2 separate regions of the Homo sapiens genome follow, and region 1 is linked to region 2. Evidence: promoter capture Hi-C in 16 types of primary human blood cells and fetal thymus (Javierre and others, 2016). All regions are on one chromosome and are shown on one strand. Each heading gives the region's core, a stretch centred on a gene start or on the middle of the fragment in contact. The rest is flanking DNA. Distances are from core to core; before and after follow the strand shown.

Region 1 (4,197 bases), core at 1,225-3,724, 450 kb before region 2:
CAGTTTTATTCAAACACAGCCATGTGGGACAGAGGCTGTATGGCTGGCAAAACCTAAACTATTTGCTACCAGCTCTTGAGAGAAAAGGTTAGCCAACCCCTGATCTACACCATGCCACATTGTAAAATGTATAATGCACACACTGCAGGGCACGCTGAACAGGCCACACAAGGTACTGTCCTGACGGGAGTCGTCCTGTCCTCTCTCCTACTCCGGACACAGCATTTTGGATAAATGAGAGATGCGTGGGGCCCCAAGATGGTAGCCCTGGAAAGTAGGAGCTGGGCAGCGGTGGGGGATGGGGTGGGGGCTGTAACTGCTCTGCCTCGGGTTACAGGTGGAGAACCTGCTCAGGGACGTGCAGGGCCAGGGTCACCAAGGGAATCAGAGTTCTGGGGGCAGCTCAGCCCTTTGGACTTTCCCTTGACTTCCAGATCGGGGCTCCTCCTTCCCTGCAGGGACCTGGGCCGCACGCAGACCCACCCTGCTTCCATGCCTGCCTGATTTCATTTTCCAAATATTTATGAGTCCCACTGTGTGCCAGACACTGTGCGAGGTTACAGCCGGGAGCTGGAGACCAGGCCCTTCAGGAATGCACACTTCTTGCCAGTGAGACTAGAAGTACATTCACAGGGTCTTTTCTGAGAGCCAGTGCTAAACACTGTGAAGAAAAAGACTGGTGCGCCCAGCAGGGCAGGGCCTGGGAGGACGGTGGAGGTCGAGGAAGGAAGGCCTTGGGAGGAAGTGAACTCACTCCAGCCTGAAGTCAGCTGTGCAAAGATCTAGGGGCAGAGCTCCGGTCCTGGGGAGCAGCTCAAGGTGGAATGGGTGAAGTCAGGCTGCGGAGGAAGGAGCGATGGGGCAAGGAGGACAGATGAGGTTGCAGTGCCGGCAGGAGACATCCTGCAGGCTCCCAGGCCAGCGTGAGGATGTGAGGTTTTCTCCATGTGCATTGAGACTGCAGCATCAGGCGCCAAGCCTCCTCTCCCTCCAGAGGGGCCGCCCCTGGGCTCTGTCCAGCCCTGTGATTCCTGGAAGGCCCTCCTCCGGGAAGAGACCGGTAATGAAAAACAAAGCAAAACAAAACTGGAAGTGCCGCCGACTGAGCACTTAGAGCTCACCAGGCACAAAGTTAAGCATATTACGTTCATTATTTCACTTAATCCTCACAAAAGCCCCCTTGGGGAAGGTACTTCCACCACATCAAAGTCACTGCCCAAGGTCCCTGCTGAGTGATCAGGAAGCTCGGCTCCAAAATAACCATGAGCTGTGGAAAGCTGCACTCAACCAGAGACCAAATCAGAACTCCAGAAGTCAGAGTCCAGCGGGTGTTGCCTGCGCTCCAAATGCCTGATGCCCACCCCATCCCGAGCAGGTCCGTCAGCTTGGCTGGGCTGTCCCACCCTCCAGGCCACACTGGCCAATCCCCCTTCCTTCCTCGGGGTGGGCTGGGTTGGGCAGGTCCCCTAGTTCACCCAGGGCTGCCTGGCCTGTGTTTTGGCAGCCCGGAGGGCTGACGTGTGCAGGGACGCAGGCCGAAGTCAGAGAGTCATCTCAGCTCACAACAGACTCCAGTGGGAACGACGCTGTGCAGAGGGACGATCCCAGCGCATTAGGGGACTACCTCCCCACCTCCTTGGCCTCTGACCCTCTCTGGCCAGGAGATACCAGAGGTGTTCAAATTCCAAAGGAGTGCTCCCCTTGGGCTGCAGAGATCAAGTTTCAGCGTGGCTCGGAACCTCTCTGCTTTCCCACCTGCAAAGAGGCTGACCACACCTCTGCCCTACACGGCCCGCCAGGTGTTGGGGAAACGAGAAAGGAGGGAGATTCCAGGCCGCCTCTCTCTGCGGGCCTGCTCAATAGTTTCCTCTCTGAGATGGGAGCAGTGCCCGACCCTGTTTCCCTTGGCAGCTCCCACCAAGAATCACAAACTCAACTGCTCCAGAGGAACTGGGACCCCAGCGCCCCCCGCCGCGCCCCTGCCCAGGGGGACAGTGGTCCCATCCAGGCCTCCAGACTGCAGACTGGGGCTGAGAAGAGAGGTCCCGGCGGCCACACGAGGCCAGGATCCCGGAAACACCACCAGCGACCGGGTGCGCTGAGACCCCTGCAGTCCCGGGTGGCCCGCGACCCCCTTACCTCCACCAGCTTACATCTGCGCGTTTCCCCGGGGATTCCGCCTCGGACGCTCTGACCCCTGACCGCTCTCCCCAGGCTCCCTGCAGGTTCACCCCGCAAGCCGCCCAGGAGCGCCCTTCCCAGGCCTCTTCTTGGGCTGGAGTCAGCGGCACTGCGCCCCGCCGGCCCAGGAGCCGCCAAGACCGCGCGGCGGGAGAGAGCTCGCTTGTCCGGGGGTGGTGATGGGAGACTCGCCTCATGCGCCTGCCCCGCGACCCGCAGCCCGGCCGGGGGACGGTGGGGGGACTCACCTTCTGCGCCGGCCCCGCGCCCAGCCCTCGAGTCCACACCGCAGTAGCCCGGGTCCCCGCCCGCTCCGCCCGGGTCCCGGCCAGCTCCGCCGGACACGCCCCCGCGGTGGCTCGGCCAATCGGAGCCCGGGAAGCGGGAGGGGCGGGGCTTGGGCGCGGCGCTCGGAGGGCGCCCGAGCTTGTGCGCGCTGCAGGTCCGGGGCTGGGCGGGACTGTCGCCCGTGTTTGACCCCCTGGCCCCGCCCGGCTTCCCTTTCCGCTCGCCGCTGCCCCACGCGGAGCGCGACTGCCGTCACCCGGTGGGACTGCGACCCTGGCCTTGGGCAGGGGTGGGGTGGGGGCGCCCGCGACTGCGAGACCTGCGGGACTTGGCGGGGAAAGGGGCAGTGGGAGGCTTGTGCCTTCTGGTGCCTCCGGCGGGCCTCACAGCACAGTCACCCTCAGCGGTCAATAATCGTAATATGAAAATGCAGCAGCACTTTATAACCTTTTTTTTTTTTTGAGACGGTGTCTCCCTCTGTCGCCCAGGCTGGAGTGCAATGGCGCGGTCACGGCTCACTGCAGCCTGCACAGAAATCATCCTGACCCCAGGAGAATTAGCCCACCAGGACCGGCTAGTTTTTGTATTTTTGTACAGACGGAGGTCTCACTATGTTGCCCAGGCTGGTCTCGAACCCCTTAGCTCAAGCCATCCTCTCGCCTTGACCTCCTAAAGTGCTGGGATTTCAGTAGTGAGCCACCGCACCTGGCCTATTTTAAGCTTTTTATAGTGGAAAATTTCAAACTGAAGGAAAGAGAATAGTCCAGGGGACCCTGGTGCCCGTCACCCAGGTCCAACACTAGCAGCAAGTTATGTCACCCCTGACTCAACCGCACCTGAGCCTCCTGTGCGGCTCAGAAGGAAATTCCCAGGCCTCAGTGCCCGGAGGCCTTCCTGGCCCTCCCTGGCCTCCTCCCCACAGGTCCTCTCAAATGGGCTTCTTCCTGTTCCTTAAAGCCTCAGGCCTTTGCTTCTACCTCCATCAGACCTCAAACTGTCACCTCCTCAGGGAGGCTGCCCTGGCCACCCAAAGCGGTTCCCTGTCTCCACCCCATCTCCCTCCACAGTCACCCGTGTTTGTAATTTTGCAAAGCATCTCCCAACCCAGAGTCCTCTCCTGAGGCCGCTCGTGGGATTCAGGGCTGCCTACCAGGCTGTGGCTTCTGTGGAATGCTCATAAACAAGTCATGCTGGTGGCTTGCCTCCCACCCAGGCTGTGAGCCCCACGGGCTAGACAGTAATTTCTTCTCGTGTTCAGACAGGACTTTCTTCTGGTTCACCCCTGCATACCGAGTGCTGAGAACGGGCAGCGCATAGGAGGAACGCAGTCCCTACCTGTCACATAGATGCAGGTTGTCTTGCCAAATAGAACTCCACCTGGGCACCCTGAGAGGGGTGGCTCAGGCCGGGGCAGGCCTGCTGGGCCAGGACCAGGTGAGAGGGGAGCAGCGGGGGGAGGGCTGATGGGCTGTAGGGCTGTGGGGCTGGAGCTAGAAGAGGTGCCTGCTCTCTTGGCAGGGGGCTATGGGCGAGGCTGTGAGGTGGGCCCAGTGCTGGAGACGGTCCTCTCCCAGCTGAGAAGGGAAGGGAAAGGGGGTGACGGAGGGGGAGGGAGAGGGGACAGGCAAGTGAGAGGGCCACCAGCTGTGGCCTTGGGGAGCCCCCTCCCCACTACCACTTCATGGCGCCCACCCACTACCGTTGCCCTCATCAGCAAGGACAGCTTTT
Region 2 (4,100 bases), core at 36-2,535:
TTGCCCAGATCACAGAGCCCATGCACAGCACAGAGCCAATTCTGTGCACTGCTTATATTAACATTTACTTAATATTTAAATTATTTTTGACCTAAATGAAAAACTTTATCTCAGTATAGTACAGAATAGAAAACCAGTATGGATAGAAAATCAATACTATGAACCATATAATGAAATCACTCTAGACTCAGTTCTCTGCTAAGAGCTTCTAACTCAAGATCTTTTCTGTTAAAAGTGGGAGATAAGTGTAGAGAGGAATTAAAGATATATTAGGATCAAACTGAGGCCAAGTGAATTTGCTCATGCCTATAATCCCAGTACTTTGGGAGGGGGAGACAGGACTCCTTGAGGCCAGAAGTTCGAGACTGGAGTGGGCAATATAGTGAGACCTCATCTCTACTTTTTTTTTTTTTTAATTAAAGATGTATTAGCACCAAACTGAGACTTTCTCATTGGTGCAATCAGGATTGAAAAACAAAACAAAAGAAAACAAAACTTTCTCACTATGTGATGGAACATGAATGAGCGAGCTCTGTGCATCCTCTAAAATTCTAAAATCCTACTTTGGGAAACAGTGGTGGCACTGAAGAGCATAGACTCAGGAGACAGATTACCCTGCTTCACATCTTGCTGGCTATCCAGTTCCTGGAAAAGAATCTCTCTAAACCTCGGTTTCTTCATGGGTAAAATGCTGATAGTAATAGCTCTGACTTCATAGAGACCTTGATAACAAATGAAAGAACGTAGGTATAATAAAACGCAAAACCAAATACACAGTGAATACTTAATAAACATAATCCATTAGCATTATCGAGCTTTGCACAGATGCCTCTGGCCTTTTTGTTGTTGTTGTTGTTAGATGAAGATAATAAAAATCATCATAGTAAACACATAGCGATTACTATGTGCTGGACTTCGTCGTAGTTGAGATATATTACCATCCTAAGTTAAACTATAATCGTTTATTGTTATCTCTAGGTCTTCCTAGATGAAATTTTTACCCTAAAGGATCGTAAAGTCGGCCCACCGGACGTCAGTGGGGTCCCCTGTTCAGCCCTCTCGTTCTTCTGGGGATCTCTCGGGACACTGACGAGGTGGCACCGGGACCTACAGGTGGGCCGCAAGCCCCGCCCCCAGCGACGGCTTGTAGCCCCGTCCCCCGACGCAGCGCCTCTCCAAGTTTGCCCCGCCCTGCAGGACTGCAGAATTTCCTTTCCGGCGGCGCGCTGTCGTCACGCGTCCCGCGCCTCCTCGCGCCTGCGCCGTGGTTGGAAGGTCGTCCCTGTGACCGGCTTGGCGGTTGGAGCGGCTGTCGCCATGTTGTCGGTAGCATCCCGCTCAGGCCCGTTCGCGCCCGTCCTGTCGGCCACGTCCCGCGGGGTGGCGGGCGCGCTGCGGCCCTTGGTGCAGGCCACGGTGCCCGCCACCCCGGAGCAGCCTGTGTTGGACCTGAAGCGGCCCTTCCTCAGCCGGGAGTCGCTGAGCGGCCAGGCCGTGCGCCGGCCTTTGGTCGCCTCCGTGGGCCTCAATGGTGAGCCGGGGCGAGGGCCGCGAGCAGGGCTGGGGGTCTCTCGGTGCCCGCTCCTCCGGCCCCCAGCAGGGAGCGGCCGCGGGCGCGCGAGCGGAGCCTGAATCAGGTCGGGCTGGGCGGCCTCCGCAACTCTGGGCCTGGCCCCCGGGCTCGGGGCGTCTTTCTGGTGGCCGGCCTGGACTCGCGTCCGCCGGCTTCGCCTGGTTCCTCCTCGGCCGAGTTCACGAGCTCTGTAGTCCCGCTGTTCCAGCCACCTCTGAGGGGTTTTGTTGCTTGCAGGTCGTTTGACCTTGGGCGAGTTTCTAAACGTACTTCCTGTGAAATGGATTCATATCTTTATCAATTTTGTAGGGGTGTCGTGAGGCTTAGGTGGAGGAATTCTACGTAAAGCCGTTAGCACAGTTTGGGCACTTACATGCTTAAGAAATGGAAACTTACTAATATTTGGGAAGTTGGTCTTCTCACCACTACCGATCCCTTCATGTCCTTCCCCTTCATCACCCCCCCACCAAAAAAAAAACAAAAAAAACATACACAAGGTCAGTTACAGTGTAGTGTCACAACATAATCAGTCGTCAAGGACGGGCAGAGATTGACGACATTTACATTTTACAGATGAGAAAACAGACGAGGTAGAATGACTCGCACCAGGATCCGTGGTGTGGACATGTGGTAGCAGGGATTTGACAAGACGAATTGTCGTAGCCACTGAGCTCTTCGCAGGGGCTATTCCACACCCTCTGTCCTTAGATCCCCGTTTATCTTCTTTGCCTCGCCTTCCATCTTTACTTGGCCCTGTATCGGAGATAGAGAAATGGCAGCCTGTGGGCAGTGTGTCTGCAGGCTGTGTAGTTTTCAAAAAAACTGGGAAGACTAATGGCATCTCTTAAAATGCTGGAAGCCGGTAATACTGGGATCTAGTTTCTACTTGGGAAAATTCCATAGTGTGCTGTGTAGTGGCCGCCCCCGCAGTTGGAGCAAGTGGTCTTCTCCAGTTTGTCACAGTCTTTACCAGGTCTGCGTGTTTCATTCTGTTACCAGCCTGGCTCCACTGATAGCTGTTTGTGACTCTTCCCCTACACGCTAACCAAATTGCCCGCCACTTTTCTTTTTACTCTGTCTTCATTCACCCTGGGCTCTGCACTTTCTTCATGGTCCTTCCACTAAGTTGCTACATGTCCATATGTTTTCCTTACCCATCTTTTCAATCTCAGTTAAGGATCAGGTGAATAAAGTTTTTATTTGCTGATTTGTCTGTCTCTGTAGCACATACACTTTACACTCTGTATTGTGTTTATTGGTAACTCCTCCACCCTTGGGCTTAAGGGCATAGAGAAGGTAATATCTTCTTTATTTTTCTATCTTTCACAACGTCGGATTTTGTATACAGTTAGTGCAAAGTATTTGTGAATGAATATTTGTTAAGGAGCATCAGTGGGTTTTGAAGAAACTGTCCATGGCAGGTGTAGAGTACCCTAGCCCATCCTTGGGACCTGGAGGTGAGAAGGAAGGAAGGAGAACATTTCAATAGCAAAAGAAAAGCATCTTTGGAATTCGTCGTGTTGCTAAAGTTTCTTCAAAAAATTGGAGGCTTACATTTCTCTGATGGCCAGTGATGCTGAGCATTTTTTCATGTGTTTTTTGGCTGCATAAATGTCTTCTTTTGAGAAGTGTCTGTTCATGTCCTTCGCCCACTTTTTGATGGGGTTGTTTGTTTTTTTCTTGTAAATTTGTTTGAGTTCATTGTAGATTCTGGATATTAGCCCTTTGTCAGATGAGTAGGTTGCAAAAATTTTCTCCCAATTTTTAGGTTGCCTGTAAACCACAATGAGATACCATCTCACACCAGTTAGAATGGCAGTCATTAAAAAGTCAGGAAACAACAGGTGCTGGAGAGGATGTGGAGAAATAGGAACACTTTTACACTGTTGGTGGGACTGTAAACTAGTTCAACCATTGTGGAAGTCAGTGTGGAGATTCCTCAGGGATCTAGAACTAGAAATACCATTTGACCCAGCCATCCCATTACTGGGTATATACCCAAAAGACTATAAATCATGCTGCTATAAAGACACATTTACATGTATGTTTATTGGGGCACTATTCACAATAGCAAAGACTTGGAACCAATCCAAATGTCCAACAATGATAGACCGGATTAAGAAAATGTGGCACATATACACCGTGGAATACTATGCAGCCATAAAAAATGATGAGTTCATGTCCTTTGTAGGGACATGGATGAAATTGGAAATCATCATTCTAAGTAAACTGTCGCAAGGACAAAAAACAAACACTGCATGTTCTCACTCATAGGTGGGAATTGAACAATGAGAACACATGGACACAGGAAGGGGAACATCACACTCTGGGGACTGTTGTGGGGTGGGGGGAGGGGGAGGGATAGCATTGGGAGATATACCTAATGCTAAATGATGAGTCAATGGGTGCAGCACACCAGCATGGCACATGTATACATATGTAACTAACCTGCACATTGTGCACATGTACCCTAAAACTTAAAGTATAATAAAAAAAAAATTGGAGGTTTACCTGACTTAGAGAAACT

What was found. Contacts are between HindIII fragments. The CHiCAGO score rates a contact against its expected background, and 5 or more counts as called.
Region 1: the fragment with the promoter of PLEKHF1 here is called in contact with the fragment with the promoter of UQCRFS1 in region 2 in 1 of 17 cell types (erythroblasts); the score reaches 7.5 in erythroblasts.

The regions. Positions count from the first base shown.
Region 1 is chr19:29,663,738-29,667,934 of GRCh38, reverse strand. It overlaps PLEKHF1 (pleckstrin homology and FYVE domain containing 1), which reads right to left and starts at 2,474. Exons shown (of 2, transcript NM_024310.5): 1 at 2,430-2,474. It overlaps LOC105372353 (a long non-coding RNA gene), which reads left to right and starts at 2,680. Exons shown (of 7, transcript XR_935896.3): 1 at 2,680-2,728; 2 at 3,728-3,903. RefSeq lists enhancers at 1,367-1,416, 2,037-2,156, 1,608-2,161, 2,162-2,715 and a silencer at 2,237-2,906. The HindIII fragment of the contact is 18,952 bases long and covers 1-3,191 here.
Region 2 is chr19:29,210,336-29,214,435 of GRCh38, reverse strand. UQCRFS1 (ubiquinol-cytochrome c reductase, Rieske iron-sulfur polypeptide 1) reads left to right here and starts at 1,285. Exons shown (of 2, transcript NM_006003.3): 1 at 1,285-1,531. The coding sequence starts at 1,318. UQCRFS1-DT (UQCRFS1 divergent transcript) reads right to left here and starts at 1,183. Exons shown (of 2, transcript NR_184022.1): 1 at 1,028-1,183. RefSeq lists an enhancer at 1,102-1,341 and a silencer at 1,382-1,691. The HindIII fragment of the contact is 13,970 bases long and covers 1-4,100 here.